Linked DNA regions of Homo sapiens: region 1 is linked to region 2. The links are contacts of gene promoters, found by promoter capture Hi-C in blood cells and fetal thymus (Javierre and others, 2016). All regions are on one chromosome and are shown on one strand. The core of a region is centred on a gene start or on the middle of the fragment in contact, and the rest is flanking DNA. Distances in the headings are between cores, read along the strand shown. Region 1 has its middle 3.4 kb from the start of TPK1. Region 2 holds the start of WASL (WASP like actin nucleation promoting factor).

Region 1 (4,442 bases), core at 562-3,061, about 21 Mb before region 2:
GGCGAAACCCTGTCTCTACAAAAAATACAAAAATGATCTGGGTGTGGTAGTGCACACCTGTAGTCCCAGCTACTCAGGAGGCTGAGGTGGGAGGATCACTTGAGCCTGGACAGCAGTGGTTGCAGTGAGCCAAGATTGTGCCACTGCACTCTAGCCTGGGCAACTACAGGATAGTGTTAAGGTACTGTGATTCTCCTGCCTCAGCCTACCGAGTAGCTGGGATTACAGGTGCACACCACCACACCCATCTAATTTTTTGTATTTTTAGTAGAGACAGGGTTTCACTATGTTGGCCAGACTGGTCTTGAACTCCTGACCTCATGATCCGCCCTCCTCGGCCTCCCACGGTGCTGGGATTACAGACGTGAGCCACCGCGCCCAGCCCTAAAATAATTTTTTTATTTTTTGAGACGGAATCTCGCTCTGTCGCCCAGGCTGGAGTGCAGTGGTGCAATCTCGGCTCACTGCAAGCTCCGCCTCCCGGGTTCACGCCATTCTCCTGCCTCAGCCTCTTGAGTAGCTGGGACTACAGGCGCTTGCCACCGTGCCCGGCTAATTTTTTGTATTTTTAGTAGAGACGGAGTTTCACTTTGTTAGCCAGGATGGTCTCGATCTCCTGACCTTGTGATCCACCTGCCTCAGCCTCCCAAAATGCTGGGATTTCAGGTGTGAGCCACCATGCCCGGCCGCCCTAAGGTAATTTTTATATGCACTAGGAAACCCCAAAATTTGTGCAGCTTACTTAATTGTGGTATCTGGAATCAAACCCACAGTATTTCCAAGTCATGGCTGTATTAAAAAGAATGAGCTAGATAAATATGGCATCATGTGGAAAAATGTCCACAACAGAGTAAATTTTGTAAATGTAAATGGTAGAATAGTCTCACTTCTGTTTTTGATGATTCATAGAAAATGGATTTGGAAAGTCATAGAAACTGAATTGTTAAAATGACCTCTGAGAAAAAGGGGTGTAGTAGGTAGGAGCCAGTAGGGTGAGAGTGATATCAATTTTTATTTTATGTACTTTTTTTATTACATTAATACATATTTTTTCAATAAGTATATTAAAGAAGTTTAAGATGTTTATAAAAATGTATATTAAAAGAAATTTAATGAGCAATTATTGTTAACCTTTAGTATATTTGGGGCTTCCAAGGAAAGCAGAATAAATATAAGCATGCATGCATACATACATACATGGAACAATTTTCAGGGGAGAGGTTCCAAATCTTCAAACAAATTTTCAATTGATTCTATGATCCCAAAAAGGTTAATACTGATGGTAAACAGGTCCACAGTATGACTCCACAAAGTAGGAAGGAACTCCAAGTAGTAAGTTACATAGTTTTCTCCAGGATACAAAGAAGGCTCTTCTGTCTTCCTCACCAAATATTCTGTGGCTCTACCCTCATTTTCTTGTACTGGTGGTGTTCAAAATATATGGTATATTGGCCAGGTGTGGTGGCTCACACCTGTAATCTCACCACTTTGGGAGGCATGGGTGGATTTCTTGAGGCCAGGAGTTTGAGACCAGCCTGGCCAACATGGTGAAACCCCATCTCTACTAAAATTACAAAAGTTAGCCAGGCATGTTGGCACACATCTGTAGTCCCAGCTACTCAGGAGGCTGAGGCATGAGAATCACTGGAACCTAAGAGGCAGAGGTTGCCGTGAGCAAAGATCATGAGATTGCAGCAATTCAGTTCCATCTTCAGGCGCCACTTCTAATTCTAGTTCTCTTGCTATTTCTACCACATCTGCAGTTATTTCCTCTACTGAAGTCTTGAGCCTCTCAAAGTCAGCCATGAGGATTGGAATCAACTTCTTCCAAACTTCTATTAATTTGGATATTTTGACCTCCTCCCATGAATCATGAATGTTCTTAATGGTATCTAGAATGGCAAATTCTTTCTAGAAGGTTTCCAATGTACTGTACCCAGATCCATCAGAGGAATCACTATCTATGGCACCACAGCATTACAAAATGTGTTTTTTAAATGATAAGACTTGAAAGTAGAAATCACTCCTTGATCCATGGTCTGCAGAATGGATGTGTTAGCAGGCATGAAATCATTAATCTCCATCAGAGTTTTTGGGTGACCAGGTGCACTATTAATGAACAGTAATATTTGTAAAGGATTTTTTTTTTCTGAGCAGTAAAATAGTGGGTTTAAAATATTCAGTAAACCATGTTGTAAACAGATGTGTTGCCATTCAGGCTTCGTTGTTCCATTTCTAGATACAGGCAGAGTAGATTTAGAATAATTCTTTTTTTTTTTTTTTTTTTTTTTTTGAGACGGAGTCTCTCTCTGTCACCCAGGCTGGAGTGCAGGCCCAATTTCAGCTCACTGAAACCTCCACCTCCCAGGTTGAAGCGATTCTCCTGCCTCAGCCTCCTGAGTAGCTGAGATTACAGGCACCTGCCACTATGCCCAGCTAATTTTTGTATTTTTAGTAGAGACAAGGGTTCATCATGTTGGTCAGGCTGGTCTCGAACTCCTGACCTCGTGATCTGCATGAGCCACCGTGCCTGGCCAGATTTAGCATAATTCTTAAGGGCCCTAGGATTTTCAAAATGGTAAACAAGCACTGGCTCCAACTGACAACCACCAGCTACATTAGGCCTTAACAAGTGAGTCAGCCTGGCCTTTGAAACTTTGAAGCCAAGTATTGACTTTTCCTCTCTAGCTATCAAAGTCTTAGATGTCATCTTCTTCCAATAGAAGGTTGTTTCATCTCCATGAAAAATGGCCACCTTCATCAATGATCTTAGCTAGATTTTCTGGTCAACTTGCTACAGCTTCTTCATCAGTACTTGCAACTTCACCTTGCTCTTTTATGTTACGGAGATGGCTTCTTTCCTTAAACCACATGAACCTCTGCTATCTTCAAACTTTTCTTCTGCAGTTTACTCATTTCTCCCAGACTTTAAGATAATTCAGAATCAGGGCCTTGCTCTGGATCTGGCTTTGGTTCAAGGAAATGTTGTGGCTAACTGGATCTTCTACACGGACCACTCAAACTTTCTTCATAGCAATAAGGCTGTTTATCTTTCTTATCATTCATGTGTTTAGTGGAGTAGCACTTTCAGTTTTCTTAAAGAACTTTTGCTTTGCATTCACAACTTGGCTAACTGATACAAAAAGCCTAGCTTTCTTTTGACAAAACTTTCTCACTAATCTTGATCATTTCTAGCTTTTGATTTAAAGTGAGACACATGCAGTTCTTCCTTTCACTTAAACACTTAGAGGCCATTGTAGGAATATAAAATGGCCTAATTTCAATACTGTCGTGTCTTAGGGAATAGGGAGGCCCACGGGGAGAGAGAAACAGGAGAATGTACTGGTCCCGGGGCAGTAAGAAACACACAACATTGATCTATTAAGTTTGCCGTCTTATAAGGGCATGGCTGGTGGCACCCCAAAACAATGACAAGAGTAACATTAAGAATCACTAATCACAGATTGTAATGAATATATTAATGGAAATATTTGAAGTATTGTGAAAATTACCAAAATATGACGCAGAGACACGAAGCAGGTACACGCTTTCGGAAAAATGTTGCAGATAGACCTGCTTGATGCAGGCTTGCCACAAACTTTCAATTTGTAAAAGCGGTATCTGTAAAGCACAATAAAGCTAAACACAATAAAAGGAGGTATGCCTGTAATTCCTGGTATGAAGTACCATAATTCTCCATTTTTTTCCCATTATTTGTTAATTTATTTCACATTTACTGAACTTATCTTGGTGAGACACACTGTGTGGCTGGAGAAATAGCAGGGAAGGAAATAGACAAGGCTCCTGCCCTTAGAGAGCTAGCTCTCTAGTAGGGGGAGACAAATCATTAACAAGTAAACTGTGCTAGAGTGAGGATTCAAGGGCCAACAACTAAATTTTGGTCCTTGTTTTCCTGGAGCCTACATTTTAGGGTAATTAAATAAAATATAAAAGACCTCAACACTGACTGGAACATAATAATTGATCAGTAAGTGTAAATTTTTATTACTGCTTAAAAAATTGGTTACAATCTGCCATTGAATTCATTGTTCAAGATTTCGTTCTGAATATTGGTGATGTGTTTTTGCCATTTGACTACCTTCTATAATTTGCCTTGCCTGTTTATATCCTTGGTCATAATTTTTCTGGTTTGCCTTTTACTAATGGACATGTAGTTCTGAGGCAGAATAGGGTCTGGAGGCAGGGAATGTTAAGGCCGATTCATGCTGACTTCCTGGAACTAAATCAAATTGCAGTACTTCAGCAATGACAGGAAACATCCTCTCCATTTACACAGGGCTTATATCCAGTAAATGACTTTAAAATTTACTTCATCCTCTTCATTTACATAGGGCATAAGCCAAGTAACCAATGGAAACCTCTAGCTGGCATTTAAACCCCAGAACATTCTCTAACGGCACTCTTGAGCCCCTATCCTCGGG
Region 2 (4,189 bases), core at 1,429-3,928:
GTTGGACCTGAGGAAAAAAGTCTACTGTGGTCATCATTTTCCATCTCCAAGTCTAAAGAAAACAGAAAAAGGGCAAATAGTAAAAAGAAAATTGCATTTAGATAAGTCATAAAATTTCCTGAAAGAAAAGAAAATCAAAACAATAGATAGTCTAGGCTAGTAAGAGGTTGTGAAATGATTGGAACTCAATAATTCTCAGAATGAGATAAATTCTTGAACGCAGCTACTGTCCATTCACCTATCATCTCATGGCCTTTTTTTTTTTTTTCACAGCCCTCTCCCACTACTCTTTCCTGTCTTCAAAATAGTTTGGTGGTCTACAAGTTCTAAAAGCTGGTATTTCTAACATAAAATTTGCTAATCTTTCAGTTTTTATTAAATTAGAAGCTAATAGGATTCTATCTCTGGATTTACAGTTTTAAAAAGTTTTATTTTGGCATACTGGGATATATGTAGCCTATTTGATATAATATATGGCCTAATCAGAAATTCTGCTATCAAGTTCTTCACTATATTTTTGAAAAAATATGTACAATTGTATATTTGAAGGACAGTTTTTGAAGAGTCAGAATTAGAACAAAGGTAAGAATACATATATTAAGTCTTGATCCCTTAGCTCAGGGAAAGCAGAAAAGACCATAGGCAAGGACTGTCAATGGCCGACAACTAATACTTGAGTAACCACTATGTATCAGGTACTTTACATGTGATACCTTTTTTTAATGTCTTATAATTTTAGTTTAAAAAAATTTTAATACACAATAACTGTACATATTTATGGGGGTACATAGTGATGTTGCAATACATATAACATATAGTGATTAGGGTAATTAGCATATCTATCATCTCAAAAACTTATGTCTTTGTTTTGGGAACATGCAATATCCTTCTTCTAGCTATTTGAAACTATACAATATTGTTAACTATAGTCATCCTACAGTGCTACAGAACACTAGAACTTATACCTCCTATCTAGTTGTAATTGTGTATTTTACAACTTTGAAGTAGGTGTAATTATCCCTATTTAGACTATACCTGTATGAAACAGAAATTATTTTCATTTTACAGATGAGGAAACAGACGCAGAGAAGTAATTTGTCCAAAGTCCATAGGGTTGTAAGACTCATAACAAGAACTACAACTTGGGCCTATCTGAATCTTATACTTCTGGTACTATACTTGTTCACAGGTTTGAAAAGAGCTTTAATTTCTATTATTTCTCAAGAATTTGTAATGCTTTCTCTTGTCACTGTGCTTTCAACTTAGAGGAGTTGCAGTTTTGATAAAAGACAAACTGATTTAGCTTCTAGGTTTGTTAAATATGTAATTCAGAGGCAACTCCAGGCTTATATTTCTACGACTGCTTTCTAAATCTAATTATTTTATAAATAGTCCTGTTGCTTTAATTCACTTTTTACCCTAACATAATTAATCAAGTTTAACTTTGAAATCTCCATATTTTATGTGAGAACTCCCAAGGCTATCCACTTTTATTTTCCTTTGTAAATTTATTGTTGCTCAGCCTATTTCATTAATGGCAGCTTTAATTATAATATTTTATTATATTTTCAAAGTGCATGATAATGGTTTACCAGTCTGGTTAGTACATCAGAGATTTCTATTGGGAGCTATCAGAGATGTTAACATCCAACAATTTTACCAAAGTGTAATTGTTATAGACGTCTTAACATGAATTTACGCAACAAAAATATGTTTAATGTGGAGAACAGTGAGATGCATATTTGATAATTCACTGCAGTCTGCATCATCATCTCTATATTCCAAAATTTCGTCTTAAGCCGTTTAGTATTTAACTTACAGAAGAAAGGGGGTTATCTTAGATAACTTTTAATATCCTAAGGTATTTTCCAATTCACGATACAGGGAGAAAAGAAATGTGTCCAGGCCCTTAGAAGAAAATACTTTGAATTTAAATGTGACACATACATTAAACCCGCGTGACACGCCAGGCAGGCGGTGGAAGTCAAGTGCATTTGTTTTTGTTTCATCCACCAGGGCGATCTCTTTCACAATTCTGGGAGAGGCCTGTTTGTTCCTCCACTCCCACAGCTGAAGTTTGGGACAAAGTTTGAGAAAATCCCAGGCACCTGCGGCTCCTATCGAAGCCGGCGAGGAGCACAGGGTAGAGCGTCTCTTCCCAGTTTTCAGTCTTCAGATCGCAGGCCTCTCGGACCCGCAGAGCGAGCTTCACGCTGCAGCGCTTGAGAAATAAGAGCTATTCCAAGGAGGGGCCCTGGGTCCTCACTGACGCTTCGCAAAGGTGTACGTCCGCCCAGGGAAGGCCGGCGGCGCAGCGACGGCGAGGAGTCCCCATCCATCTTCTCTTCAAGCAGCAGTAGCTGGGTTCGGGTACCCAACCGACGAGCCGAGACGCCAGAGGCCAGAGTACGAAGTTGGAAGCCTGCGCCCCAAGCCAACCGGGATTCCACTTAGCTCCGCGCGGTCCGCGCCTCGGCCGGAAGGGGGCGTGGCTTCGGGCCCGCGCCGCGAGGCCCGCCGCCGAGTGGGGGGGTTTCTCCCGGGCCGCAGCCGCGCGTTTCCGGCGCGCTCCCCCGCGCCCTCCGTCCTGTGGTCTCGCCCGCCCCCGCTGCCATGTTGGATTGTGCGGCCGCCGCCGCCGCTGCGGGAGGGTTGGGGGAGGAGTTGGGAGTTTAGCGCAGTCGCCGGAGTGCGAGGACAACGACCATCCGGCCCTAGCCTGGCCGGGCGGGTGCCGGGAGCTTCCCTTTCTCAGCGCGGCGCGAAGGTGGCTCGCCGTCAGCGCCTGCTTCCCTCGACCTCGTCCTCCTCCCCGCTCCGGAGGAGCTGCGAGATGTGGCGCCTCTGACTCCACTTCTCCCCGCCCCTGTCACCGAGAGGGGGAACGAGCTCTCGCCCACTCGCCGGAGGAGACGGCCCTGGACTCCCAACCCCGCCGGCGAAACCATGAGCTCCGTCCAGCAGCAGCCGCCGCCGCCGCGGAGGGTCACCAACGTGGGGTCCCTGTTGCTCACCCCGCAGGAGAACGAGTCCCTCTTCACTTTCCTCGGCAAGAAATGTGTGGTCAGTGGACGAGACCCGCGTCGCCACCCGTGACATTACCTCACGGGCCCGGGCTTGGGGGCCGGGAAGTGGGAGTGGGGAAGGAGGCGGGAGCGGCGCGGGCCAGGCCTCCCGCCAGCCCCGGCCCCGGCCCCGGCCCCTCGTCGGCGCCCTCGCCCTGCTCCCAGGGTGCGGGCCGTGGCGGTCGGGCGCCGCCTTCCCGAGCTGCTGGAGAATAAGGGAGTGTCACCTCCGCAGGCCTGTCCTCCAGCCTGGCCGGGCCTCGGCCCGCGCCCTTGCTGCTGGTTAAAACTTTATTCTCAGGCCACAAGGGGATTTTCTTGCAAGAGCCGCTTGGTCCTAGAATCTGGGCCCTTGTTCTAGCTCTCGCTTCACCTCTTACTGCTTGATCTGGGGGTACGTTCCTTAACAATGCCAGGTTTGAGGAGTGGATAGGTCGGGGAAGGAAGGTGGTTTTTAATCTCCCATTAGGATTCCAGGAGGGAATGAAGTCGAGTGCAAGAGCCTGGGCTCTCTTCGGATTAGAGAGGGTGCAAGAAATGTTATTGCTCTTCGTTAAAGAGAAACAAGATTTATTTCTCTAGCAACCTTGCCTAGGCCTGGTTTCTACTCTCCTTCCCACTGATTTTTTTTTTCCCCCCATTGGTGGGAGGGGGTGCTGCTCTCCCCGCAGCCATGCGCAGGGAAACCTCAATCTCTGGTAGCTCTTGGCTTTTGGGGCCGAGAATGATTCTTAGTTTGGTGCTGTGCGGCCAATTCCAACCCCAGATGGCCGGTTGGGAGCGAGCAGTTCTGCTGTGGGAAGGGGAATGTGTGTTGTTGACGGAAGCATTCATTACATTGGCTGCTGGCAATTCTGGGGGTGGGGAGGTTCTGCTCTGTGGTGTAGGCCTTGTCGGGATCATACTGCGGTGACTGGGTTGAAGTGTGGTTTGTTGAAATACTGGCTGGATCCCTTTCTCTCCACTTTGCTAGCACCTGCAGAGTATGTGCCACTGGAACCCAGAAAACACGGAAATTTCAACAAAGCAATACCATTTTATAACTCCTTTAAGTAATATTAGGTATGCCAAACCAGATTTCACCTGCTTCTTTAAGAAGTTAGGATTAGACAATTTCTGGAAAG

What was found. The method cuts DNA at HindIII sites, captures the fragments that hold promoters and counts their contacts. A CHiCAGO score of 5 or more calls a contact.
Region 1: a contact is called between a fragment that was not itself captured here and the fragment with the promoter of WASL in region 2, in 1 of 17 cell types (monocytes). The highest score is 5.1, in monocytes.

The regions. Positions count from the first base shown.
Region 1 is chr7:144,837,266-144,841,707 of GRCh38, reverse strand. No RefSeq gene overlaps it. Among named protein-coding and RNA genes, the nearest start is that of TPK1, 3.4 kb to the right of the region's middle. The HindIII fragment of the contact is 5,943 bases long and covers 1-4,442 here.
Region 2 is chr7:123,747,492-123,751,680 of GRCh38, reverse strand. WASL (WASP like actin nucleation promoting factor) reads left to right here and starts at 2,678. Exons shown (of 11, transcript NM_003941.4): 1 at 2,678-3,063. The coding sequence starts at 2,947. WASL-DT (WASL divergent transcript) reads right to left here and starts at 2,486. Exons shown (of 1, transcript NR_170281.1): 1 at 700-2,486. RefSeq lists silencers at 2,396-2,715, 3,176-3,265 and enhancers at 2,294-2,948, 3,708-3,757. The HindIII fragment of the contact is 6,394 bases long and covers 1-4,189 here.